Linked DNA regions of Homo sapiens: regions 2, 3 and 4 are each linked to region 1. The links are contacts of gene promoters, found by promoter capture Hi-C in blood cells and fetal thymus (Javierre and others, 2016). All regions are on one chromosome and are shown on one strand. Each heading gives the region's core, a stretch centred on a gene start or on the middle of the fragment in contact. The rest is flanking DNA. Distances are from core to core; before and after follow the strand shown. Region 1 holds the start of NRN1L (neuritin 1 like). Region 2 holds the start of AGRP (agouti related neuropeptide). Region 3 overlaps PRMT7 (protein arginine methyltransferase 7). Region 4 overlaps ATP6V0D1-DT (ATP6V0D1 divergent transcript).

Region 1 (6,710 bases), core at 1,707-4,206:
GGCCCGTTCCTTAGCTATGGCGCAGAGCGGCGGCTGGAGCGAGCACTGGCTGAGGGGCAGCAGCGGGGAGGGCAGCTGCAGGAGCAGCTGACACAACAGTTGTCCCAAGCACTGTCGTCAGCTGTAGCTGGGCGGCTAGAGCGCAGCATACGGGATGAGATCAAGAAGACAGTCCCTCCATGTGAGTTTTGCATGCAGACTCCCTTTGGGTGGTTCAGGTGGGAGTGGGGTACCTGTCAAGCTTCTTCTCATGGCTCCACCTCACCCTCTTCCCCTCTCCCAGGTGTCTCAAGGAGTCTGGAGCCTATGGCAGGCCAACTGAGCAACTCAGTGGCTACCAAGCTCACAGCTGTGGAGGGCAGCATGAAAGAGAACATCTCCAAGCTGCTCAAGTCCAAGGTGCTATAGGGCCCAAGATGTGGGTGGAGGTGGTGGTTCCTGGGCCTAGTCAGGCCAGGCTGGGCTCAGGCTTTCAACTTGGCCCCTCCCTCTAACCCCAGAACTTGACTGATGCCATCGCCCGAGCAGCTGCAGACACATTACAAGGGCCGATGCAGGCTGCCTACCGGGAAGCCTTCCAGAGTGTGGTGCTGCCGGCCTTTGAGAAGAGCTGCCAGGCCATGTTCCAGCAAATCAATGATAGCTTCCGGCTGGGGACACAGGAATGTGAGTGGGGTCATATGGCCCAAGGTGGGAGGGGTTATCCTCTTTCCTACTGTTCCTCTTATAGTCCCTGTGGTCACCCCTCAGACTTGCAGCAGCTAGAAAGCCACATGAAGAGCCGGAAGGCACGGGAACAGGAGGCCAGGGAGCCTGTGCTAGCCCAGCTGCGGGGCCTGGTCAGCACACTGCAGAGTGCCACTGAGCAGATGGCAGCCACCGTGGCCGGCAGTGTTCGTGCTGAGGTGCAGCACCAGCTGCATGTGGCTGTGGGCAGGTGTGTGGGCAGAGTACTGGGCAAGGTGGTGGGCTTGAGAAAGGCCAGACTAGGCTCCCTGTCCACTTCACCTCACTCACTTCCCTTTGCAGCCTGCAGGAGTCCATTTTAGCACAGGTACAGCGCATCGTTAAGGGTGAGGTGAGTGTGGCGCTCAAGGAGCAGCAGGCCGCCGTCACCTCCAGCATCATGCAGGCCATGCGCTCAGCTGCTGGCACACCTGTCCCCTCTGCCCACCTTGACTGCCAGGCCCAGCAAGCCCATATCCTGCAGCTGCTGCAGCAGGGCCACCTCAATCAGGCCTTCCAGCAGGTACGATAGGCATTAGGCCCTGCTAAGGGTCACGTGTCTCTTGACAAGGCCCACATACCATACATTCTACTCCACCCACCACCTTTGCACCTTCTGGCCCCAGCAGACTGTTCTTGGTTCCCTTTGGCCTCCAGGCCATTGTCCCTGCTGCTTCCTCTTCCTGGACCCCTTTCTTCCCACCTAGCCCACCTTGCTTTACAACTACCCTTCTCAGGAACCCATTTCCCAATCCCCTAGGGTAACTACACAGCCCTACAGGCTCTCTCTGAGTCCCTCTGGAGCTCTCACTAGCCCACCCTGTGGTCATCCTCCCCCAGGCCACACAGTTCAGACAAGCAGACATTCCATCCTGATATTTGCTATAAACACTGCTGCTTTTTTCTCCTCCAGGCGCTGACAGCTGCTGACCTGAACCTGGTGCTGTATGTGTGTGAAACTGTGGACCCAGCCCAGGTTTTTGGGCAGCCACCCTGCCCGCTCTCCCAGCCTGTGCTCCTTTCCCTCATCCAGCAGCTGGCATCTGACCTTGGCACTCGAACTGACCTCAAGCTCAGGTAAGTGGGGACAGCCAGGGATGGGGAGATGAGCTGGGGAGTGGGGCAGTGGGAGGGAGCAGTTTGAAGCTGACGCCCACTTCTGCCTGAATCCTCTCCCTAATTTTCTCCACCAGTCCTTTCTGCCTTCACCCAGAGGGTTCCCTCTGGGCCTCGGTGCCACCAGGGGGCGCTCCCGTCTGCTGGCACCCACCTGTAGCCTGTCCTTTCCCCCCCATCCCCAGCTACCTGGAAGAGGCCGTGATGCACCTGGACCACAGTGACCCCATCACTCGGGACCACATGGGCTCCGTTATGGCCCAGGTGCGCCAAAAGCTTTTTCAGTTCCTGCAGGCTGAGCCACACAACTCACTTGGCAAAGCAGCTCGGCGTCTCAGCCTCATGCTGCATGGCCTCGTGACCCCCAGCCTCCCTTAGCTGCTAAGCCTGCCTTGCCCAGGGGTGGGATGGCACTGAAGGCCAGCAGACAGGCCTAGGCTGGGGCAGGGTCACGGCTGGCCTTTACCTGCTCAGGCCCCCATCTCTGGGGTGTTTGGGGGTCAGGGAGCAGGGAGCACTGGCCGTGGTCTACAGCGTGTGGTAGTCAGAAGGTTTAGCTGGGCCCAGGGCAGGTATTGCGCCTGCTTGGGTTCTGCCATGCCTGGAGCATGACCCTGAGATCGTGACACCACTTGAGTGGAATTTTCCATGTTCCTTTTTACCTCTAATTTGGATCTTTTTGTTTTTGAAAAACATTGAGAAATTCAATTAAATGCTTTTGGAATAAAATGGAGTATGTGTGTGCTTTTGGTTTGTCTTTGGTGTGACTCTCATAACTGCCGTCTGTTCGTTCTCTGCCCATCTCTTGCCCGTGGAGCTCTGTCGAGGCCAACCCAGCCAAGGGGCCGGGTTACCCACTCATCTGCTCCAACTGCCTTCCCAGATCTCCCTTCTCCCTCCTTCTATGGAGTGAGGGTCCAGGGGCCTGCCCAGCACCAGCCTGTGCTCCTGCGAATTTCTGCTCTCTGAGGTCTCCTCGCTCCTTTTCCCATCTGGGTGTTGGAGGCGGAGCCGCCGGCTGGGTTCGGAGCCCCACCCCCAGCTCCCATCCAATCACCGTCCCTCCCTCCGGGGGCTGGGCGGACGGGCTGCACTCCAAGCAGCTAGCTCCTGCACTAGGCTCTCAGCCAGGGATGATGCGCTGCTGCCGCCGCCGCTGCTGCTGCCGGCAACCACCCCATGCCCTGAGGCCGTTGCTGTTGCTGCCCCTCGGTGAGTGCGGGCATCCGGGGCCCGGGCCACACCCCCTTCTCGCCCAGCCAAGCCAGGCTGGGCATAGGGTGTGTGGGAACGCTGGGTGCCAGGGTGGAGAAGAGTTGTAAGGGCTCCAGGAAGGTGTGCTGGTGACTTCAGGACAGAAAGTGAGAGGCACAAACAGCCCCAGTTATGGGAGAAGGACTCCAAAATTTGCATCCCCTCTTATGATAAAGGGAGACATGCCAATGGCAGGACTTATAGACCAGTCGTAGGATCCCTAAGTCCTCTCTGAGGGTCTGGCCTGGATCCCAATACCTCTGCATCCTGCCTTGTCTCTCCAAAAATATTTATCTTTAGAGAGAGTTCGGAGGGCCAAGCAAAGCTTGTCTAAACCGCAGAGAGATGCACCTGCTCCTGGTCCGGGGCCTCTGGACCTCCCTCCCCTCCACCCTGTCCTGACTCCTTTACATGGACCCTTGTCACCCCACCTGCGGCCCCAGAAGCTCAAAGGAAGAGCTGACCTGGGGTACACAACACCCCCTTCCCCTGTACAAATCCCAGTCTGGGTCCTACCTTGAAGGGGGCCTGGGTAGGTAATCCCCAGACTTGCCCTTTAGTTCCCTGGGGCACCCTTTTTCCGCTGAGTCACATCCCCAGAGTGCTCCCAGGTAAACAAGCCCCTGGGGGCTGGGGGATGAGCCTGGCTCATCCTATCTACCATTCCTTCCCCACCCCACCCCCGCCCCACTTCTAGTCCTTTTACCTCCCCTGGCAGCAGCTGCAGCGGGCCCAAACCGATGTGACACCATATACCAGGGCTTCGCCGAGTGTCTCATCCGCTTGGGGGACAGCATGGGCCGCGGAGGCGAGCTGGAGACCATCTGCAGGTACCGGCGGGTGTGAGGCAGTGGCCCAACCTGTGCCACCATTGGGGACTGAACCTTTTATTTCCCAAGCTAAAGTCTCCTTGCCTCACCTAATCCCCCTAATCCCACTCCCTTAACAGGTCTTGGAATGACTTCCATGCCTGTGCCTCTCAGGTCCTGTCAGGCTGTCCGGAGGAGGCAGCTGCAGTGTGGGAATCACTACAGCAAGAAGCTCGCCAGGCCCCCCGTCCGAATAACTTGCACACTCTGTGCGGTGCCCCGGTGCATGTTCGGGAGCGCGGCACAGGCTCCGAAACCAACCAGGAGACGCTGCGGGCTACAGCGCCTGCACTCCCCATGGCCCCTGCGCCCCCACTGCTGGCGGCTGCTCTGGCTCTGGCCTACCTCCTGAGGCCTCTGGCCTAGCTTGTTGGGTTGGGTAGCAGCGCCCGTACCTCCAGCCCTGCTCTGGCGGTGGTTGTCCAGGCTCTGCAGAGCGCAGCAGGGCTTTTCATTAAAGGTATTTATATTTGTAGTAAGCTCCTTCCTTTCTCCTGGCTGTGGCCTTGCTTGCGGCTGGGGCCAGGGACTCCTAGAAACTGATCCTTTGCTTGGATGGAATGGGCGGGGCTGAGGGCCACCACAGGGGCCCTCAATCTTCCTCCTTACAAACACTCATTTCCCAGTGGCAGCGCAAAGCTTTCCATTTCATGCAGGCCCCAAGAGCTCCTCCAGTGGAGACTGGAGATCTGCCAGAATGCACAGTCTTCCTCTACCTTCCTGTGCGGGTTGAGATCGGGAGGGTGGGGTCTCAGCCCTGCACTCCTAGCACTGCCTACCCCTTCTATCCTGGCCCCTGGGGGCCAGGTGAGCTGGTGAAGTGCCCTTGATCTCAGCTCCACCCCCTCCCCAGCCTCTGGGCTCCTGACCATTTCACCTCCTCCTCTCTCTGCCTGTCACCTCAGCCTTCAAGGCATAGCACAGACTATGTGCTCAGTCCCTTCCTCTGGTTTTCTGGTCTATCTGAGGGAGGCCTGTTCTAGAAGGTGGGGAGCCTTTGTTGAAGTCCACATTCAAGCCCCTGATGTGACCTGAAGTGGCAAAAACTGGAGTCACCATAAGGGTTCCTCTGGCCTCTGCTCTCCACAAGCTTGTTCTTTGAGAAGAGGTAGGCAGTGTGTAGTCAAAACAATTGCAGAAGGCTTTCTGGAAGCCGTGGAACAAGAGCATGTGGTGTGCGAGGAGCCCCTCTTCATACCGGTGGAAAGGAAGAGCAAAATCAGCTAGGCAGAGGAATCTGAGGAAGGAGAAAGCCTTCTGGGGGTAGGACCCTCTTCTGATCAGCCTTCTCCCACCACCGCCAGGATCCTATTCCAAGCCATTACCCCACGGTTTACAGAGGCACTGCCATAGTCTCCTCATTGACTTCTATTATCACTCCCTCCACTTTATTCTTTACTTTTTTTTTTTTTCTTGTCACCCAGGCTGGAATGCAGTGGCACAATCTCGGCTCACTGCAACCTCTGCCTCCCGGGTTCAAGCAATTCTCCTGCCTCAGCCTCCCTAGTAGCTGGGATTACAGGTGCCCGCCACCATGCCCGACTAATTTTATATTTTTAGTAGAGATGGGTTTGCCATGTTGGCCAGGCTGGTCTCGAACTCCTAACCTCAGGTGATCTGACCCCCGCGGCCTTCCAAAGTGCTGGGATTGCAGGTGTGAGCCACCATGTTTGGCCTTATTCTTTACTTTCTTTTTTTTTTTTTTTTGAGACAGAGTCTCCCTCAGTCGCCCAGGCTAGAGTGCAATGGCGCGATCTCTGCTCACTGCAAGTTCCGCCTCCCGGGTTCACACCATTCTCCTGCCTCAGCCTTCCGAGTAGCTTGGACTACAGGCGCCCGCCACCACGCCTGGCTAATTTTTTTTGTATTTTTAGTAGACGGGGTTTCACTGTGTTAGCAAGGATGGTCTCGATCTCCTGACCTCATGATCCACCCGCCTCGGCCTCCCAGTGTTGGGATTACAGGCGTGAGCCACCGCGCCCGGCCTATTCTTTACTTTCTAAATTGAAAAACTCAGCCAGGCATAGTGGCTCAATCTTGCAGTATCACCTCCTCTAGGAACTATTCCCTAACCCTGACTACAAGCTGAATCAGAAGGCTCCTCTAGGTCCACACAGCTCCTGGATTCCCTTCTGCCTCAGTACTGATAGCACTAGCTTGTTATTGTCTAGGTACAGGTCAGAATTCCCCACTGTGGATTCCCCAAGGGCAGGAAGTCCTTTTTGTCAGAATCCTCGTTGTGTCTCTAGCATCCAACCTAGGGCTGGATATAAAGGGTGCACTTGTGGGAGGGTGTGGAATGAAAGATAGAACTCCTAAGTCCAGCATGGGTAGTGCTACAGTAAGCAAGAGCTTGGACTGAGAATGACCCCACTGTGGAGGTGTGTCATCTTGGGGTGGCACCTTTACTCTGGGCATACTGCTGGGAAGGATGGTGCTGGGGCTGTATACCCCAGAAGTCTTCCAGAGCTGGTCTTGGATGGCTAGGAGCAGGGGCCTGGCTGTTCTGGCTGGCCGTCAGGGAGATTACCATCCTCCTGCTGTGGCCTACTTTTCCCCTGGTTTTTGCTCTCTAAGTCCCTACTTTTCCATGGAATAGAGCGGGGCTTGGGGAGGGGGGAAAGAATCTGCTCTCTGGCTAGGGGCTTAAGGGCTTTGTGTGTTTTATCCTAGAGCTGGAGGAGAGGGGTGGGCTGATAGCCAAGCTGGCTGGGCCCTGGGCACAGCTGCCCAGGCCAGAGCATC
Region 2 (7,082 bases), core at 1,223-3,722, 400 kb before region 1:
GAAGAACGACATGGCTGCTGCGGGAGCGGCGGGACCGGAGAACCAGGACCGGCCGGCACGAATCGCGACTCCCCAGGTCAGCTGACGCTGCGTCCTCAGCGGGCTGTCAAGTGCGTCAGGTGACGCGCAAGCGCCTCACGTGACCATAAGGGGGCGTGGCTCTGAGCGGTGCCCGGCTTCCGGGTGGCTGCGCGGAAGCGCGGTGCAGGCGTGGGCTGGCCCTGCGGCGCCTGCGCGCTAAAAAGAGGAAGTTTGAGGCCGGCCGCTTGGTGGCGCCTGTGGCCGCAGGGATTTGACTGGGCCTTCTCTAGCTTTCCCCGGTTTGCTGCACTTGACGCTGCAGGGCGGGCGGGGTAAAGAAGGGAGCGAGCCCTTCTCAAGCTTGGAAAGTTTCCAGACTGCTGGGCCAGCCTCCTCCCCAGAGGGAAACTGAGGTCCGATTGAGGTAGGAGAATAGGGTCTGGAGGCGGGGAACTTGAGGCCAATACGTGCTGAATTCTGAAGCTGAATCAAGGGAAAACACCAAGGTCTGGGGGCAGGGAACCGGAGGCCAACTAAGGCGAGCTTACTAAAGCTAAACCAAAAAGAAAAACCCCATCTCCCCATGTCCAAGTAACAAAGGATCAAAGGCCACTGTCCCCACAACCCTCCCCCTTCCACCACGTCTCAGTTGAAAGGGAGAGTGCCTTGGATTGGCTGCGGGCCAAGCACGGGCCATCCCTTCATCTGCATAGGGCGCCAATTCACCTTAGCCCCATTTATGCCTTGTGTTCCATTATTGGAACGCTAAGCATATGGGAGTTATTTATATCCTACTGCTCAAGGTCATGGCCAAGGTCTGATTGCAAAAATTCAAAAAGATTGCAACCTCAGGCATAAATGGATTAATTAGCCATGGACCAAACCCTTCATCCAGATAAGGGGTAACGGACAGGGACCGCAAAAGGAGTACTTAAAACCCGGAAAACTTTGTAACTGAGCCCCTTCAGCCTCTTGCTCAGGCCCACTCCCACCCTGCGTAGTGCTTTCTCGCTTTAACAAATCCCAGCTGTCTGCTTCCTTCCTGTGTGTCATTCGTTTGTTACTTTCTGGGTTTTGTTCAATTCTTTGTTCGAAACGCTAAGGACCTGAACAACGCACACTCCTGGCCTTCCCTCTGGTAACAGGATGAGGGGCAGGCTTTGCGTGGAAGTAGCAGCAAGCCCTGGAGCCTAAGGCTTATTTGTTAGCCAGGAGTGATAGCCCCTGTGCCACGCTGCGTCCTGCGTTCCCCGCACTTGCTGTACAAGATTTTCGAAAGCTGGAGTGCGGCTCTTCTCTATTTTTCCCAGGGGCACCAGGACCCCTAAAAGCGCCCGTGTATGTGCCTCCTATGATAGGGTAGCCCAGGCCCTGGGATAAGAGTATGTGTGGTTTCTTGGCTTGGTGACACTCCCACCCCCTCCATGAACCCTCCCTCCTTTGACGGCCACGTTTGAAATAACCACAGCCTTGGGGTTGGTCCCATCCTTTATTCGAGTTTCCTTGCCCCTACCCTAGCCCCGACCCTGACGTTGGCCAGCTAGGTGCGGCTGCAGGGATTCATGGCAGTACCCAGCTTGCGGCAGTAGCAGAAGGCATTGAAGAAGCGGCAGTAGCACGTGGCACATGGGTCACAGCAAGGCACCTGCTGTCCCAGGCAGGACTCATGCAGCCTTACGCAGCGACGTGAGGAGCGGGGCTCGCGGTCCTGCAGGTCTAGTACCTGCAGGGGTGGGGAACCAGCACAGGCCTCTAAAGACAGATCCAGGGATCTTACCTGTCCCAACCTGTGCAGGATGGCAGTGGAGCATGGGAAGGGGTGGTCGGTAGTGTCGTCGCTGGTGAGGGAGTTTGGAGCTGGGGAGAGGAGCTAATACCCAATGCCCCCTCCCAAGGGCCACCACCTTACCCTTTTCCCTGAGCAGTTACCTCTGCCAAGGCCTGAGCCTCCTGCAACAGATCCTCTTCTGCCTGTTCTGCAGTTGTCTTCTTCAGTGGGGCCCGCAGGCCCAGGCCTGGGGCAGAGGATGTGAGGGCAGGAACCCCCATGCACAAAGCACCCACCTCCCAGGGGAGGGTTTGGGAAGGGAGAAAGAGGGTTTATGCCAGGGGAGACTATTTGTGGCCAGAGGGTATTCAGGCCCCGCCCAGTCCCACCCTTGCTCACACTGACCTGGGAGCTCTGGGAGCAGGGCCTGGTCAGGCCTTCTGATGCCCTCCATGGGGGCCAAGCCCATCTGGGCTCCTCGCGTGGCAGGCAGTGCCAGCAGCAGGGCACAGCTCAGCACCGCTGCGGTCAGCATGGCCTGGCTCAGCAGGAAGATGTACCACTTAGTCCCTCCTTATCCTTGGAGTCCCCTCTAGGTGCCCAGATAGAGACCCCACAGAGAGGAGGAGTCCCTGCCCAACCTGAGGACTCACCTCTGCCTCCGGGATTCTTGCCTAGAGAGTTCCCGGCCACCCCGTGCCCTTGGCTTATATGGCAGGGCCTAATGAAGGGCCACACGTGACTGATCCCTGCAGCCAGGCCGTGAAGGACCCTTCCTGGAGGGTGGGGGCACAGTTCAGGCCCTCACTCCCTGAACCTGAGCCTTTTGTTCTACAAGAGGAGTGCCTATCTCCAATTTGGGGTGAGGTTTCCAGGAGCCGATTAAAATTTGGGAGCAAGAGAGGGTGCCCAGGGTCCACAAATTTCCACAGGACAGGGACCTAGGAGCTGAGCAGGGCTAGAACCATTAGCAATAACAAGGCAGGCGGCCCTGAAAGCTTAATTTAATTTGTGGCCCCAGAGATGCTTACTCAACCCCTATGTGGCATGTTGTTTCCTGTGCTTCCAAGAATTCGGGTCAAGGACATTGGAGCGGGTGATGGGCCAATGGCCACTGTTGGGCAGGGGTAGGTGCAGAACCAGAACCTGGGTTTCTTTGGAGGGAAAGGGGAAGGAAAAGCCCACCTAACCAATCCTAGGCCCTCCTGACTACATTTCTGGTCCTCCCCTCCCTTTCTCCCTCCAGGTTTCTCCAAGACCGCCCACTCCTGCTCCTGTCCCCAAACCCCTTTCTGCCTAGGGTTCCTGGAAGCCAAGGAAACAGAACGAACTGTTCCCTGGGTGGGCGAGCCACTGCAGAGTACAAAGCTTTCAGGCCGCCTGCCTCATTAGCACTAATGGCTGCTCCCTTCCGCCCTGTGTCGTCAGGACTGTCTATGCCTGGTCTCATCAGCACAAGGCTGGGGTAAGGACTGCCCTTTTGTGGAGATGGCAGGACATACAGGACCCTGCTGCCCCTGCCTTCCCTCACCCCACTGCAGAGCTGTTTATCACACACGTGTCCATCTGGGAAAGGAATGCAGGCTGAATCAGCTTTGAGAGGATCGCAAGGCCCCAGTGCACAAACTGGGTTGGCACAAGGCAGTGGAAAAAAGATGAAGGGGGCCAGGTATGGTGGCTCACACCTGTAATTCCAGCATTTTGAGAGGCCAAGGTGGGAGGATCACAAGGCCAGGGGTTTAAGACCAGCCTGGGTATCATGGTGAGACCCCGTTGCTACAAAAAATAAAAAAATAGCTGGGTGTAGTGGTGCATGCCTGTAGTAGAGGCTGAGGTGGGAGGATGGCTTGAGCACAGGGATTCAAGAGTGCAGTGAGCTATGACTGCATCACCACACTCCAGGCTGAGCGACAGAGCAAGATCCTGTCTCAAAAAGAAAAGAAGATAAAGGGTGGCCAGGCACGGTGGCTCACGCCTGTAATCCCAGCATTTTGGGAGGCCAAGGTGGGCGGATCACTGGAGGTCAGGAGTTCAAACCAGCTTGGCCAATATGGTGAAACCCTATCTCTACTAAAAATACAAAAGTTATTCAGGCATGGTGGCACATGCCTGTAATCCCACCTACCCGGGAGGCTGAGGCAGGAGAATCACTTGTAACACGGGAGGCAGAGACTGCAGTGAGCAGAGATCGCACCACTGCACTCCAACCTGGGTGACAGAGTGAGACTCCATCTTAAAAAAAAAATGCTATTTAAAATGAAATGAAGCAATCCATACTCCCAACATTTATATATACTGGGACATCCAAGAAATTAAAATCACACCTCATTATGTCTTTTTCTTTGAGTCAGGGTCTCACTCTGTCACCCAGGCTGGGCCTGGTCAGCACCCATGCTATGGAGAGCTCTTCATGGTCTGGTGTGGACAGAGTGGGAGTGGAAGATCTCCTCCCACACAGGTGCTCAGTGTCTTACCTCACCTACGGGCAGCAGCTGTCTTCACCTGAGTGTGTGCACACAGGTGTATCAGCCCCATGGGCAGTGATGGACGAGGGCTGAGGCACTCACAGGGCAGCCCATGCCCCGGTCAGGTCCAGTGGGGGAGATATCAAGAAAACCCAGCGCCAAAATGCAATGAGCTGTGATCGCGCTACTGCACTCCAGCCTGGGCGACAAAGCAAGTTGCCGTCTCAAAAAACAAAAACAAAACTAAACAAAAAAAAAAAAACGGCCAGGTGTAGTGATTCACACCTTCTTGAGCCCAGGAGTGGCAACATAGTGAGACTCTGTCTCTACCAAAAAAAAAAAATTTAATTAGCTGAATGTGGTGATGCACACCTGTAGTCCCAGCTACTCAGGAGACAGGGAGGAGGATAGCTTCGGCCCAGGAGATTGAGGCTGCAGTGAGCCATGGTGGTGGTGGCTCACGCCTATAATCCCAGCACTTTGGGAGGCTGAGGCAGGCAGATCACTTGAGCCTAGGAATTCGAGGCCAGCCTGGGCAACATGGCGAAACCCAGTCCCCATTAAAAAAAAAAAAAAAAAAGGCCAGGTGCGGTGGCTCACGCCTGTAATCCCAGCACTTTGGGAGGCCGAGGTGGGCAGATCACAAGGTCAGGAGATGGAGACTATCCTGCCTAGCACAGCAAAACCCCATCTCTACTAAAAATACAAAAAAAAAAAAAATTTAGCCGGGCGTCATAGCGGGCACCTGTAATCACAGCTACTTGGGAGGCTGAGGCAGGAGAATGGTGTGAACCCAGGAGGCAGAGCTTGCGGTGAGCCGAGATCGCGCCACTGCACTCCAGCCTGGGTGACTGAGCGAGACTCTCTCAAAAAAAAAAAAAAAAGTTTCACAGCCGGATGCAGTGGCTCACGCCTGTAATCCCAGCATTTTGGGAGGCCAAGGTGGGCAGATCATGAGGTCAGGAGTTCAAGACCAGCCTGGCCAACATGGTGAAGCCCCATCTCTACTAAAAATACAAAAATTAGCTGGGCATGGTGGCACGCACCTATGATCCTAGATACTTGGGAGGCTGAGGCAGGAGATTTACTTGAACTGGGACCCAGGAGGCGGAGGTTGCAGTTAGCTGAGATCGTGCCACTGCACTCCAGCCTGGTAACACTCCAGCCTGGTAACAGAGTGAGACTCCATCTCAAAAAAAAAAAAGTTTCACTATGTGGGTAATTTTACGGTAAGGAACCAGCCTGATATTCCCAGGACAATGCTTGTTGGCAAAAGGACCTTCAGAAATATGTGGCATGTTCTGGGAGGAGGATTTGGGAAACCCTGGGGGAGGCAGAGCCTCCTAAGTGAGGGTGTGGGCCCGGAACACAGGGACTCTGTGCAGGGAGGAGAAAGGGGAGAGTGTGCATGCTCGTTCCAGAGACCACATGAGGACAGAGAGGGGTGCTCAAACCCTCTCCCTTCTCTTCTTTTTCCTCCTGCAGTGTACTCCCCTTCAAGGGCCCTGTTCCCACCTTGTCCAGGGGAGAGGGTGGGGGGTGCAGGGAAAAACTGCAAGCACCCGTGGCTCTGTCAATCAGGGTTGATTTTGAAACCCCTACCCAGCCCATTGCCCCTGCCCCAGAGAGCACAGCCATGTGTTTCCTGTGAATCATCTGTAGGATTTCCTAAGGCAGAGGTTGCCTGGAGAGGCACGGTCTCCTCAGTCATTCAGGGAGAGGAGAAGATGGATGGGGGTTCTCTCGGGCTGGTGTATTGAGCCCTGAGCTAGAGAGGATCTGTGATTGTTAATTTTGTGTGTCAACTTGACTGGGCCAGGAATGCCCAGATATCTGGTTAAATATTATTTCTAGGTGTGCCTGTGAGGGTGTTTCCAGAATCATCCAATCCTTTGAGGGTTGGAATAAAACAAAAAGATAGAGAAAGTTGGTGCCGTGGCTCATGCCTGTAATCCCACCACTTTGGGAAGCCGAGGTGGGAGACTGTCTTGAGCCCAGGAGTTTGAGACCAGCCTGGGTAACATACAGAGACCCAATCTCTACAAAAAAATTTAAAAATAGCCAGACACAGTGGTGCACATCAGTGGTCCCAGTGACTCCAGAGGCTGAGGTGGGGAGGATCGCTTGATCCCAGGAGGTTAAAGCTGTAGTGAGCCATGATCACACTACTGCATTCCAGCTTATGCACATGAGACCTTGTCTTAAAAAAATAAAAAATTTTAAAAAAGAAAGAAAACTGGAAACAATCCAAATATCCATCAACAGCAAAATGGATAATAACATTATAGTGATATAATTGGGCCAGGCACAGTGGCTCACACCTGTAATCCTGGCACTTTGGAAGGCCGAGACGAGTGGATCACTTGAGCTCAGGAGTTCCAGACCAGCCTGAGCAACATGACAAAACCCTGTCTCTTCAAAAATTACAAAAATTAGCTAGACATGGTGGCGCAAGCCTGTAGTCCCAGCTTCTCGAGAGGCTGAGGTGGGAGGATCACTTGAATCCAGGAGGCAGAGGTTGCAGTGAACCAAGATTGCACCACTGCACTCCAGCATGGGTGACAGAGTGAGACCCTATCTCAAACAAACAAACAAAAGTATGTTTATATAATTGACAACTATACAGCAATGACAAGAGAATAAACTACTGCTACACACTGCAACATGAATGAATTGCACAGACATAAGGTTGAATGAAAGAAGCATGCTGCAGAAGAGTGAGGATGGAATGAATCCAGCCCTATGACATTCAGACCCAAGCAAAATTATAATAAATGGTGATAAAACACAACAGCGGTTAACTCTGGGAGGGTGGGAAATTATTGACT
Region 3 (6,697 bases), core at 3,261-5,760, 450 kb after region 1:
AATAAAGTATTTAAGTTACATATCTTAGGACCAGAATCAAGGAATAGCTTGCTCACCTTAAAGGTCAGACTACTGTTTAATTTATTGCTCATTTTTCCTTGGGTTTCGGCTCTATTTTCTAGGTTTTCAAGCCTATGGCTGATGCTGCTGTGAAGATTGTGGAGAAAAATGGCTTTAGTGATAAGATTAAGGTTATCAACAAGCATTCCACCGAGGTGACTGTAGGTCCAGGTGAGATTTACACACCCTGTGTTGAAAGCTTTGCTTGCTCTTGTGTGAGAGAGGAAAAGGGTTATTCCAGTTACCTGGAACAAATCCAGGTCATAGCATAGAAGTGGGACCTCTCTGTGTGGAGCTCTGACAGTAAGGACTTGGTTTCTCTTGATGTTTATTTTCCTGCTAGTTAAAACTAGTCAACAAGGAGTAGACTAGAGCTAGTCAGGTCCAGCAATGGAGACGCAAACAAAACCTACATTTGCTTTAAGCAAATTGGAATTCTTATGGGGCTCAACTCTTGAGTTTCAACTACCAATAATTACGCCTTGGATAAACCTCATTGGCTACGATACTGCCACTGCTCAAAGCTCAACTCTGAGTTTCATCAGGCAGAAAGTACTTAGTTCTTTTATTTATTTATTTTTTTGAGAGAGAGTCTCACTCTGTCGCCCAGGCTGGAGTGCAGTGGCGCTATCTTGCCTCACTGCAAGCTCTGCCTCCTGGGTTCACCCATCCTGGCTAACACGGTGAAACTCTATCTCTACTAAAAATACAAAAAATTAGCCAGGCATGGTGGTGGGCACCTGTAGTCCCAGCTACTGGAGAGGCTGAGGCAGGAGAATGGCGAGAGTAGTTCTGACATTCTGCTTCTGCATACAACATGAACAATTTTCCTGTATAGCATTGTCTCTTAAGGTTTCCAGAATATGTATATGTACACACACACACACACACACACATATTTTTTTTTTGAGACGGAATCTCACTGTGTCACCCAGGCTGCATTGCAGTGGTGCAATCTTGGCTCACTGCATCCTCCACCTCCTGGGTACAAGTGATTCTCCTGCCTCAGCCTCCCAAGTAGCGGTGATTACAGGTGCCTGCCACCACACCTGGCTGCTTTTTGTATTTTTAGCAGAGACGGGGTTTCACCATGTTGGCCAGGCTGGTCTTGAACCCCTGACCTCAGGTGATCCGCCTGCCTCAGCCTCCCAAAGTGCTAGGATTATAAGCGTGAGCCACCATGCCTGGCCTCCAGAATATTTTTTATAGTCTAGAACTTTGTTTCAGTCTTTGAAAATTTCACATGCCACTGACACTTAGAGAACATAGTTGAAAGATTTGCAAAGGAAAAACTGTGGTGAAGTTATGGATAACACCATGGGTTTTTTCTAATTTTTTGTGGAGATAGGGTCTTACTATGTTGCCCAGGCTGGACTCAAACTCTTATGCTAAAGTGATCCTCCCATCTCAGCGACCCAAGTACCTGGGACTACAGGTGTGCACTACTGCACCTGGCTTTTTCACCACGGTTTTGGAGAATGCAGTATCATTCTGAATTGAAGCTTCTACCTAAGGTCAACATTATTCTCCCATTTAACAATTTTTTTTTAATGGAGAATCTGAAACATGTACAAAAGAAGTGGGTACTATCTTATTTATTTATTTATTTGAGACAGAGTCTCACTCTGTTGCCCAGGCTGGAGTGCAATGGCAGGATCTCAGCTCACTGCAACCTCTGCCTCCCATGTTCAAGCGATTCTCCTGCTTCAGCCTCATGAGTAGCTGGGATTACAGGCGTGCACCACCATGCCTGGCTAATTTTTGTATTTTTAGTGGAGACGGGGTTTCACCGTGTTGGCCAGGCTAGTCCCGAACTCCTGACCTCAGGTGACCAGCCTGCCTCGGCCTCCGAAAGTGCTGGGATTACAGGTGTGAGCCACCGCGCCCGGCCTATCTTTTTTATTTTTAAAATATACAATAGAGTGCTCAAATCATTCCATTTACAATCAACGTTATTGAAGTATGATTTACATTAAATGAATATCCATTTTCATTATGGATATTTGACAAATATAAACACACTTGTAACCACCATCACCATAATGAAGATAATAGAACATCTCCATCATGCCCAAAGAGATTCCTCATAACCCTTTCTATCAGTCCCCCCATATCCTGGTCCTAGGCACCCACTCATAGACTTCATTATAGATTAGATTTGCCTGTCTAGGATTTCAAGGAAGTGGAATCAAAGAAGTGTGGACTCTTCTGTGTGTGTGCTCTCTTTTTTATAGCGTGATGCTGGTAAGATTCTTCCACACTGTTCATGTCTTGGGGGTCCGTTCTTTTGTGTTACTGAGCAGCACTCTATTAGATAGATGTACCATAACTTGTTTATCTCTCTACCTGTTGATGGACAGGGATTTCTTGGATAGGTCTTTAGATTCACTGATCTTTTCTTTTGCAGCATCTAATATGCTGTTAAGTATATTTAGTAAACTTTTCATTTCTCTTTCTTTGTTGTTCTTTTTTTTTTTTTTTTGAGACAGGATCTTGACCTGTCCCCCAGGCTGGAGTGCAGGGGTGTGAGCATGGCTTATTGCAGCTTTGACCTCCTGGGCTCAAGCAGTCCTCCTGCTTCAGCCTCCTGTGTAGCTGGGACCACAGGCTCATGCCACCATGCCTGGCTAACTTAAAAAAAATTTTTTTTTGTAGAGATGGGATCTCAGTTTGTTGCTTAGGCTGGTCTCAAACTCCTGGGCTCAAGCGATTCTCCCACCTCAGCATCCCAAAGTCCTAGGATTACAGGCGTGGGCCGCTGTGCCTGGCCTCATTTTTGATATTGTATTTTTTAATCTCTGAAAGTTCCACTTGATTCTTTTTCATAACTTCCATTTTTCTCATGTTCATAGTTTTCTATAAGCACATTTATTTTAGCTTTTTGAACATCCTTATCTTCTGTTCCCACCATCTTTGTTTTTTCTGGGTTTGTTCTCTTGACTCATTTTTATCCTTATTCTGGGTCACATTTTCCTTCTTCACATGTCTAACCATTTTTGTTTGGATGCTGTGGCTATTTGGAATTCCCCATTGTTGAGTGCTAGACTTCGTTGGTTTTGCTTTTTAAACTTTGGCATGCAGTTGGGTTACTTGCAGTTCAGATTGATCCTTTCAGGGCTTGTTTAAGCTTTCTTTGGAGTGGGGTTAGAGTAGCTTTAAGTCAGGCCTTCTCAACAGTAGTGCTGTGACGTTTTGGCATTCTCCAACTATGTGACATTTTGATAATTCTTTGTTGTGGACCCTGTCCTTTGCATTGTAGGATGTTTAGCAGTGTCCCTGGCCTCTTCCCAGTGGATGTCAGTAGCACTCCCCTCCTCCCACCATTCTTGCCAACTAAAAATGTCTCCAGACTGCCACGTCTTCCTTGGTCTCGAGTGTGTAAAATTGCCACCTGTTGAGAACCACTGCTCTAAGGCTGTTTAGCCAGACAGTTACTGTAACCTTTCTGGAGTGTCTGCTGAGAGCTCTAGGTGCTCAGCAGGGTTTCCCTTGTCTGGCTGATCAGAACTTGAATGTTTCCCAGGCCTCTGAGAGCTCCGGAGATTGTTATCACTCATGCAACCTTTGCTCGGCTTCACAGAGTATTACCCTGTGTGTGTGTGAATGTATTAACACAGACCCTAGAGGAACCCTGTGCAGCATTCTGAAGGCTTTTTTTCTGTGTAATTTCCTCTCTGATTCTCTGCCTGGCAAGTTCCAGCTGCTTCCACTTCCCTGAACTCGTTTCCTGTCTGTTTAACTCAGCAAGACTGCCGTGCTCTGTGTCACCTCTTACCCTATACTGTGGTCTGGAAAGGGTCTCCTGGCTGATAGCCAGAGCAGGGTAAGGGTTACTTGGTTTGTTTCCCTTCTTAGGGAGCAAACTGTGTTGCCTCTTGCTCAACATCTGAAAACACTTGTTTCATATATTTTGCCCAGTTTTCTAGTTGATAACAGCCGGAGGGTAAGCCTGATCCCACTTATTCCACTATGGCCAGAGTGGAGATTGATTCATTTATTTATTTTTTTTTGAGACAGTCTCACTCTGTTGCCTAGGCTGGAGTACAGTGATGCGAACACAGCTCACTGCAGCCTCGACTTCTGGGCTCAAGTGATCCTCCTGCCTCAGCCTCCTGAGTAGCTGGGACCACAGGCAGGCGCCACCATACCCAACTAATTTTTTTGTTTTTTTAAATTTTTATTAGAAACTAAGTCTTGCGGCTGGGTGCAGTGGCTTATGCCTGTAATCCTAGCACTTTGGGAGGCCGAGGCTGGCGGATCACCTGAGGTTGGGAGTAGCAACCAGCCTGACCAACTTGGAGAAACCTGTCTCTACTAAAAATACAAAATTAGTCAGGTGTGGTGGTGCATGCCTGTAATCCCAGCTACTGAGGAGATTGAGGCAGGAGAATTGCTTGAACCTGGGAGGCAAAGGTTGCGGTGAGCCGAGATTGCGCTATTGCACTTCAGCCTGGGCAACAAGAGCAAAATTCTGGCTCAAAAAAAAAAAAAAAGAAAAGAAAAGAAACTAGGTCTCGCTTTGTTTCACAGGCTGGTCTTGAACGCCAGGCCTCACACAGTCCTTCTGCCTCAGCCTCCCAAAGTGCTGGGATCACAGATGGGAGCCACTGTACCTGGCGAGATCATTTATTCTTGAAAATTTATCCATTTTGACGGCAGGGAGACTGATCTGCAGGGCAGCCTTGGCCATGAAGTATGCTGACTCTGCCTCCAGGCAGCATTGTTCACACACACCTCAGCTTAGGCCAGGCCCCTCATATGATTTCTTATTAAAAAAAAAAATTTTTTTTAGATAGAGTGGCTCTGTCGCCCAGGCTGGAGTGCAGTGGCATGACCTCGGCTCACTGCAACCTCCACCTCCCGGATTCAAGTGATCCTTCCACGTCAGCCTCCTAAGTAGCTGATATTACAGGCATGCACCACCACCTGGCTAATTTTTGTATTTTTAGTAGAGATGGGGTTTCACTATGTTGGCCAAGCTGGTCTTGAACTCATGACCTCAAGCGATCTGCCTGCCTTGGCCTCCCAAAATGCTGGGATTACAGGCATGAACCACCACGCCTGGCCAATTTCGTAATACTTTTCTTCATAGCGCTTACCACTGCAATCATTAAATCATTATGTAGTTATGTATTTAATGTCTGTATCCCCACCCAGCTGAGGCATCCTGAGGTCATGCACTGCGTGGGTTGTATTAACTATTCCATTCCGTTATTTGCTCCGGGCCTGTCATGTAAAGGAGTTAGGTAATTTTTGTAAAGTGAGTAGATTGTCAGTTGTGCTTCATCCATAATCCCTTGTAAATGTGACTTTGTTTCCGATCCTCAGCCTGACAAGTGGCTTCCTCATTGCCAAGTTGGGTGGTCTTTCCTCTGCTTTTCCTCTCTAACCACTGCCGCTTTGGTACTTCTGCCATTCCTTCCTTCTTGAAACTCTCCCTGGACCTTAGTGACATCTCTTCATCTTGGTTCTCCTGTGTTGCTTTCTTTCTGCTCCAGATGTATACTTTCCAAGGTTCTGCTCTCAGCCCTTTTTAAAAGTGGCATCTGAAGTTGCCTGTTCCCCAGAGCTGGGTTACATGCTGAGGCTTGTGGAGAGCCAACCCAGGGAGCAGCGTGTGTTCATCCGTCCATTTTGTTCATTTGGAAAGGGCTTAGGAAGCTCCTGGGGTGGCTACCTGCTTCAGACTCCCCCACCCCGTGCCCTTATACATTAGCAGTCACACTCAAAATACCAGGCCCTCAAGAAGTACTTGTTAAAATGCACTGGACCATAAAGCTTGAATTTTTTTTTTTTAATTTTTATTATTTTTTGAGACAGTCTCACTGTATCACCCAAGATGGAGTATGGTGGGGCAATTTCAGCTCACTACAACATCTGCCTCCCGGGTTCAGGCAATTCTCATGCCTCAGCCTCCTGAGTAGCTGGGACTACAGGCGCGTGCTACTACACCCGGCTAATTTTTGTATTTTTAGTAGAGACAAGGTTTCACCACATTGGCCAGGCTGGTATCGAACTCCTGGCCTCAAGTGATCAGCCCAGCTTGGCCTCTCAAAGTGCTGGAATTACAGGTGTGAGTCACTGTGCCTGGCTCTTGATTTTTATTTTAATGAAGCAATTTGGACTATAAAGCATTTTAAGTTATATAATTGGTTTAAACATTCAGGAGATAGAATTGGCAGAGTGGGTGATCAGTGGGTTGTAGGGTGACAGAAATCAATAATTTATCTAATGTGTGTTGACTGTTACGGGGCACTAGACCTTGTGGGTGCTGGGGTACAGTAGTGGACAGGCAGTCAGCGGTCCTGCTGTCCTGGAACTAGTAAATGATGCCCAGATTCCTGGACTATGTGACTCATTGATTGATTGAGGCAGAAACCCTGGAGGGAGGAGCAGGCGTGTTAGCTGGGGTGGGTGGGATGAGTTTTGGACAGTGTATTCCAGTTGGAGTTTGATGTGACATCAGAGAGGATGGGCAGGGCTTCTCGGGAGGGTGGTCTCTGTGGCAGAAGACAGAAGTTTCTTCTTAAGCTCCTCCACGTGATACTGTCATGGAGCACAGGTGAGCTTCATAGGAAGTGTGCTTTTTTTTTTTTATCTTCATCATCCCGACCACCACCACATGAGACAGAGCCCA
Region 4 (6,692 bases), core at 1,258-3,757, 380 kb before region 1:
GCTGGAAAGAGCTGTGGCCAACCCAGGGAGGCCCCAAATACACCAAGTCCCAGGTCCTCCTGCTCTTGTCACCTTTCTACAGTGGTAAGACAAGACACATTGTCTGAACAGTCCCAGTTCAGAACTTCTGTCGTGGAGCCTGTAGTGCTGCAAAGGTTGAAGACAGTGGCTTATACCCAGCTCAGTTCTTTATTTTCTCTCTTTCTCTCCTTCCTTCCTTCCTTCCTTCTCTTTCTTTCTTTCTCTTTCTTTCTTTCTTTCTCTCTTTCTCTTTCTTTCTCTTTTTTTGAGACAGTCTCGCTCTGTCACCCGGGCTGGAGTGCAGTGGTGTGAACTCAGCTCACTGCAAGCTCTGCCTCCCGGGTTCACGCCATCCTCCTGCCTCAGCCTCCCGAGTAGCTGGGACTACAGGCGCACACTACCACGCCCCGCTAACTTTTTGTATTTTTAGTAGAGATGGGGTTTCACCGTGTTAGCCAGGATGGTCTCAATCTCCTGACCTTATGATCTGCCTGCCTCGGCCTCCCAAAGTGCTGGGATTACAGGTGTGAGCCACTGCACCTGGCCTTTTTTTTTTTTTTGACATGGAGTTTCGCTCTTGTTGCCCAAACTGGAGTACAATAACACGATTTCGGCTCACTGCAAACTCTGCCTCCTGGATTCAAGTGATTCTCCTGCCTCAGCCTCCTGAGTAGCTGGGATTACAGGAGCACACCACCATGTCCAGCTAATTTTGTATTTTTAGTAGAGATGGGGTTTCACCATGTTGGTCAGGCTGGTCTCAAACTCCTGACCTCAGGTGATCCACCTGCTTCGGCCTCCCAAAGTGCTGGGATTACATTTTTTTTTTTTTTTGTCATGTGTCTGTTGCCAAGGGAATAAGGTTGGGGGGAGGATCAGGCAAGGGCGTGATTTATATACATATATATGTGTATATATATATATTTTTTAATTTTTTAATTTAAGGACAGGATCTTGCTATGTTGCCCAGGCTCTTGAACTCCTGGGCTCAAGCAATCCTCTTGCTTCAGCCTTTCAAAGTGCTGGGATTACAGGCATGAGCCACTGCACCTGGCCAAGCTCAGTTCTTTCTGGGGGTGGGCTTGGGAAGCCTTCCTCAGCAGTGATCCAAAGGCCTAGGACAGAGGAGAGGGGGTGCAGACAAGAAGGAACAAGGCCTCAGCCTCCCATTCTTGGCAAATCTAAACCTGGCAACCAAGATGATGATATTCTCATTTCACAGAAAAGTCTACTTTTCTCAGCTGGGGAGCAAGTGTCAGGAGCACTGGGGCCAGACTCCCTCCCCAACCTGGCCCTGCTCATTTTCCCCCGTTGCCTGAGGACCCTGGGGATGGAGGAAGAGCATCAGACCAGGGGCAGGGTCTATTCTGGGCCAGCACGTGGAGCGGAGGCAGAGCTGGCCTCAGGCCCTTGCCTGATCCTCCCTCCCCTTATTCCCTTGGCAGCAGACACATGACATAGAAATCACTGGTTCCACCAAATACTGCACAGCCCAGATGCTGCTGGCCTGATCAGGGCCAAGCTGAGTCACCACTTTAGGATACGATTCTTGCTTTTTGGACTATGAATGCACCCTCATCACCCCATGCTCAACCCCCAACTGAAGACTGAGGTTACAGCAGATCCGTGGATATCACAGGGTGATGAGGCACTAGGCCACCTGCTGCCTATTCCCTGGCACTTCATTCTTCTGATAATGGAGTATGAGAGAGAATGGGACATGAGGTGGACCCCGATCAGGCATGTCATAGACAGGAGGGACACATACTACCACTGGGCATGGTGCCCTAGATAATGACCCAGAGGGAGGTTGTAGGTCTCGACCCTGGGGTCCAAGCTGATGAGGAAAGGCAAGAAAAAAAGAAGGGGCCAGGCATGGTGGCTCATGCCTGTAATCACAGCACTTTGGGAGGCCAAGGTGGGCAGATCACTTGAGGTCAGGAGTTGGAGACCAGCCTGGCCAACGTGGTGAAACCCTGTCTCTTATAAAAATATATATATATATTAAAAAATTAGCCGGGGCCAGCCACAGTGGCTCACTCCTGTAATCACAGCACTTTGGGAGGCCAAGGCGAGTGGATCACCTGTGGTCAGGAGTTCAAGACCAGCCTGGCCAACATGGTGAAACCCCGTCTCTACTAAAAATATCAAAATTAGCTGGGCATGGTGGTGGCACATGCTGGTAATCCCAGCTACTCAGGAGGCTGAGGCAGGAGAATCGCTTAAACCTGGGAGGCGGAGGTTGCAGTGAGCTGAGATCATGCCATTGCCCTCCAGCCTGGGAGACAAGAGTGAAACTCCATCTCAAAAAAAAAAAAATAGCTGGGTGTGGTGGTGCACACCTGTAGTCCCAGCTACCCGGGAGGCTGAGGCAGGAGAATCGCTTGAACCCAGGAGGCAGAGGTTGCAGTGAGCCAAGATCACGCCACTGCACTCCAGCCTGGGTGACAGAGCAAGACTCCATCTAAAAAAAGAAAAAAAAAGAAAAAAAAAAAGGAAAGAAAGAAGGGAAAGCAGGTAGGATGTCTTGAACAAATAGGTGGATATAGGCTCCAGAACTGGTGGTTGTTGGGAAAAGTGGGAAAACCTTCTGCATGGGGTTGCCTGGGTGAGCTGATTTCCTATTAGGTCCTCATTCCTGCTGCCACCAAGATAAAGTGATGGGTGGCATGGAGATTTCAGCTGTGTCCTTGGATGTCATGTGCTCTGCAGTCCTCATGATGATAACAAGAGTCCATCCAGTCCATGCTTCGATGCTGGCATGACTAAAGGAACAGGGATGTTATCGAATGGGAGGGCCACGTGGTGCCCTCGTGGGCTTCCCCAAGCAGCTGACCAGACCTGGAAGCACCTTTGTCTAAGGCCCTACGAGCAGCCTAGTTAATCCTTTTCCATTCCCCCATCCCACTCACTTGTATCCCACTCTGCCTTTGCCATACTGAATCCCATCCTTGGAAAGTCAGGAAAGCCCTAAGATCTCTAGGCTCCAGCATAAGGCAGGTCCCCAGTATAATGACTGACTCTTGTCCCTTTTCTTCTTCTTCTTCTTCTTTTTTTTTTTTTGAGATGGAGTTTCACTCTTGACGCCCAGGCTGGAGTGCAATGGCATGATCTCGGCTCACCACAACCTCTGCCTGTCGGGTTCAAGTGATTCTCCTGCCTTAGCCTCCTGAGTAGCTGGGATTACAGGCGCCCGCCACCACGCCCATTTTTGTATTTTTAATAGAGACGGGGTTTCACCATGTGGGTCAGGCTGGAATGCAACTCCTGACCTCAGGTGATCCGCCTACCTCGGCCTCCCAAAGTGTGGGATTACAGGTGTAAGCCACCACGTCCAGCCTACTTTCTTCTTTTCACATGATAGGTATGAACTGGTAATGGAATAAAATAGGCCGGGCGCAGTGGCTCACATCTGTAATCCCAGCACTTTGGGAGGCTGAGGTGGGTGAATCACCTGAGGTCAGAAGTTCAAGACCAGCCTAGCCAACATAGCAAAACCAAGTCTCTACTAAAAATACAAAAATTAGCCAAACATGGTGGCACGTGCCTGTAATCCCAGGTATTCAGAGACTGAGGCACAAAAATCGCTTGAACCCAGGAGGCAGAGGCTGCAGTGAGCCAAGATTGCACCACTGCACTCCAGCCTGGGGGACAGAGTAAGACTCTGTCTCAAAAATAAAGCAAAATAAAATAAAATAAAATAAATCGTCATTGTATGATGATACATTTGGTACTCCAAACTATCAAGTTGTGGCCAGGTGCAGTGACTCATGCCTGTAATCCCAGCATTTTGGGAGACCAGGGTGGGTGGATCACCTGAGGTCAGGAGTTTGAAACCAGCCTGGCCAACATGGTGAAACCCCTTCTCTACTAAAAATACAAAAATTAGGTGGGCGTGATGGTGTGCACCTGTAATCCCAGCTACTCAGGAGGTTGAGACAGGAGAATGGCTTGAACCTGGGAGGTGAAGGTTGCAGTGAGCCGAGATCACACCACTGCACTCCAGCCTGGCGACAGAGCAAGACTCCATCTCAAACAACAACAACAACAACAACAAAACTATCAAGTTGTAACTTCAAAACTGAAATTTATTTATGTATTTATTTATTTTGAGACGGAGTTTCGCTCTTGTCACCCAGGCTGGAGTGCAATGGTGCGATCTCAGCTCACTGCAACCTCTGCCTCCCGGGTTCAAGCGATTCTCCTGCCTCAGCCTCCCAAGTAGCTGGAATTACAGGCCCCCGCCACCATGCCCAACTAATTTTTGTGTTTTTAGTAGAGATGGGGTTTCACCATGCTGGCCAGGCTGGTCTCAAACTCCTGACCTCAGGTGATCCATCTGCTTCGGCCTCCCAAAGTGCTGGGATTACAGGCATGAGCCACGACACCCGGCCCAAAACTGCAATTTATAGTGCACTGAGCAGCAAAGAAAAGTGACGAGAGCACCACTTACGATCTCTGTTCCAACAACTCGACTCTGCTGTTGGAACCCAAAAGCAGACACAGGCACCATGTAACAGATGAACCAGGCTACATTTCAATAAAACTCCATGTCTGCACACTGAAATTAGAATTTTAGATAACTTTAATGTGTCACAAAATAGCCTCCATTCGATTTTTTTTCATTGTGGTTCACGCCTGTAATCCTGGCCCTTTGGGAGGCCAAGGCAAGAAGATGACTTAAACCCAGGAGTTGGAGACGCAGCCTGGGCAACATCAGGAGACCCTATCTCTACAAAAAAAATTTTAAATTAGCTGAGTGTGGTGGTGCGCACCTGTAGTCCCTACCCTTTGGGAGGCTGAGGCAGGAGGATCATTTGAGGCCAGGAGCTCACTGCACTCCAGCCTGGACAACAGAGGGAGACCATATCTTGGAAAAAGAGAGAGAGAGAGAGAAAAAGAGAGATGGAGGGAGAAGGAGAGAAATGTAAAAACTTTAGAAAAACTTCAGTGCTTCTTAGTTGGTTTAAAAAAAAAAATGCCAGGCATGGTGGCTCATGACTGTAATCCCAGTACTTTGGGAGGCCGAGCAGGCGGATCGCAAGATCAAGAGATTGAGACCATCCTGGCTAACACAGTGAAACCCTGTCTCTACTAAAAATACAAAAAATTAGCCGGGCATGGTAGCGGGCGCCTATAGTCCCAGCTGCTCAGGAGGCTGAGGCAGGAGAATGGCTTGAACCCTGGAGCCGGAGCTTGCAGTGAGCCCAGATTGCGCCACTGCACTCCAGCCTGGGCGAGAGTGCAAGACTCCGACTCAAAAAAAAAAAAAAATCCTTGGGAGGCTGAGGCTGGAGGATCCCTTGAGCCCAGGAGGTTGAGGCTGCAGTGAGCTGTGATCCCACTACTGCACTCAGCCTGCATGACAGAATGAAACCCTGTCTCAATCAATCAATCAATAAGGCCGGGCACAGTGGCTCACGCCTGTAATCCCAGCACTTTGGGAGACCGAGGCGGATGGATCATTTGAGGTCAGGAGTTCAAGACCAGCTTGACCTACATAGTGAAACCCTGTCTCTACTAAAATACAAAAATTAGCCAGGTGTGGTGGCAGATGCCTGTAATCCCAGCTACTTGGGAGACTGAGGCAGGAGAATCGCTTGAACCCAGGAGGCGGAGGTTGCAGTGAGCCAAGATCACACCACTGCACTCCAGCCTGGGCGACAGAACAAGACACCCTCTGAAAGAAAGAAAAGAAAGAAAGAGAAGGAAGGAAGGAAGGAAGGAAGAAAGGAAGGAAGGAAGGAAGGAAGGAACCATTCTTGACTTGTGGGTTATACAAAAACAGGCAGGGTTCCACTCCTGGCACTAGGTTTGTTCTTGTGTTTGTTCTCTGTTCAGGGTTATGCCACGCAGAGGGTAGGAGGGGAATTAGTCCATGGTTATGTGTCCTCACAGATGACCACTGAGAAGGCCACCATGCCTAGTCGTCACGACTCTAGGCCCAGCAACTTGCTGAAGACTCTGCAGTGCTGGGGACCCAGGCATTTTTGTGAGGCTGTCCACACCCTATCTGCCTGTGAGGACTGGGCAGTCCATCTGGGGGTCTGGCTGCCTCTCCTGCGTGCTGCTGGGAGGCTAGGCCTGACTGTCATTGCTCTACGGCCACATCCCCAGCCACGCTCTTCTTTTTCTTCTTTCAGCCAGAGGGAGCCCTGAATTCATGCAGAGGAGTTTTTCTACCTTCCATCTGCTTCTGCATATCATCTTGTCTACTTAATGCCCCTCCTTCCGGATTTATAGAACAGTATGCATAATATGACCCCAACTGCATTCCAAAAAATAGATGTAGATGTAAGCTTAGAGATGCAAAGAAACTTTTTGAGAGAATTCACTATGCTTCTCGCGGGTGGTGACACAGTTCAAGGAGGTTCCATGGGGTGTAATGTTTATCTTTCTCTTTTGTCCTTCTGATCATTGAAATGATGCTTTGTGTGTGTGAACATGTATTACTTTTATAATTAAAATAGAAAAATTAATTTGAATGGGACAAATGCTCGAAGTCAAAGTCACCTGTTATAACTGCTGTCACTAACAGGGCAACTGTTTGAAAATGCTGCAGAAACATGAGAAATGTTCATGAAGTGACCCTGTGGAGGCTTCCGGTCACAGGATCATGTGAGCGCCACGATCACCCCAGGGGTGGAGCAGATGCTAAGTGTTCACCACAC

What was found. Contacts are between HindIII fragments. The CHiCAGO score rates a contact against its expected background, and 5 or more counts as called.
Region 2: the fragment with the promoter of AGRP here is called in contact with the fragment with the promoter of NRN1L in region 1 in 1 of 17 cell types (naive B cells); the score reaches 5.2 in naive B cells.
Region 3: a contact is called between a fragment that was not itself captured here and the fragment with the promoter of NRN1L in region 1, in 1 of 17 cell types (total CD4 T cells). The highest score is 6.5, in total CD4 T cells.
Region 4: a contact is called between a fragment that was not itself captured here and the fragment with the promoter of NRN1L in region 1, in 1 of 17 cell types (naive B cells). The highest score is 5.0, in naive B cells.

The regions. Positions count from the first base shown.
Region 1 is chr16:67,881,929-67,888,638 of GRCh38, forward strand. NRN1L (neuritin 1 like) reads left to right here and starts at 2,957. Exons shown (of 3, transcript NM_198443.2): 1 at 2,957-3,054; 2 at 3,794-3,926; 3 at 4,046-4,440. The coding sequence starts at 2,976. The coding sequence ends at 4,331. EDC4 (enhancer of mRNA decapping 4) reads left to right here. Exons shown (of 29, transcript NM_014329.5): 23 at 26-181; 24 at 284-399; 25 at 501-666; 26 at 751-937; 27 at 1,030-1,249; 28 at 1,640-1,803; 29 at 2,028-2,571. The coding sequence ends at 2,220. RefSeq lists enhancers at 2,049-2,228, 2,534-3,043, 3,044-3,551. The HindIII fragment of the contact is 1,303 bases long and covers 2,117-3,419 here.
Region 2 is chr16:67,481,075-67,488,156 of GRCh38, forward strand. It overlaps AGRP (agouti related neuropeptide), which reads right to left and starts at 2,473. Exons shown (of 4, transcript NM_001138.2): 1 at 2,443-2,473; 2 at 2,195-2,327; 3 at 1,951-2,036; 4 at 1,497-1,744. The coding sequence starts at 2,324. The coding sequence ends at 1,562. ATP6V0D1-DT (ATP6V0D1 divergent transcript) reads left to right here and starts at 320. Exons shown (of 4, transcript NR_184227.1): 1 at 320-445; 2 at 3,036-3,254. It overlaps ATP6V0D1 (ATPase H+ transporting V0 subunit d1), which reads right to left and starts at 83. Exons shown (of 8, transcript NM_004691.5): 1 at 1-83. The coding sequence starts at 12. RefSeq lists an enhancer at 34-83 and a silencer at 194-363. The HindIII fragment of the contact is 2,406 bases long and covers 380-2,785 here.
Region 3 is chr16:68,328,944-68,335,640 of GRCh38, forward strand. PRMT7 (protein arginine methyltransferase 7) reads left to right here. Exons shown (of 19, transcript NM_019023.5): 6 at 123-231. It also overlaps the pseudogene RNU4-30P. Among named protein-coding and RNA genes, the nearest start is that of PRMT7, 21 kb to the left of the region's middle. The HindIII fragment of the contact is 2,651 bases long and covers 3,186-5,836 here.
Region 4 is chr16:67,497,861-67,504,552 of GRCh38, forward strand. It overlaps ATP6V0D1-DT (ATP6V0D1 divergent transcript), which reads left to right. Exons shown (of 4, transcript NR_184227.1): 4 at 6,165-6,692. Among named protein-coding and RNA genes, the nearest start is that of AGRP, 18 kb to the left of the region's middle. The HindIII fragment of the contact is 7,622 bases long and covers 1-6,318 here.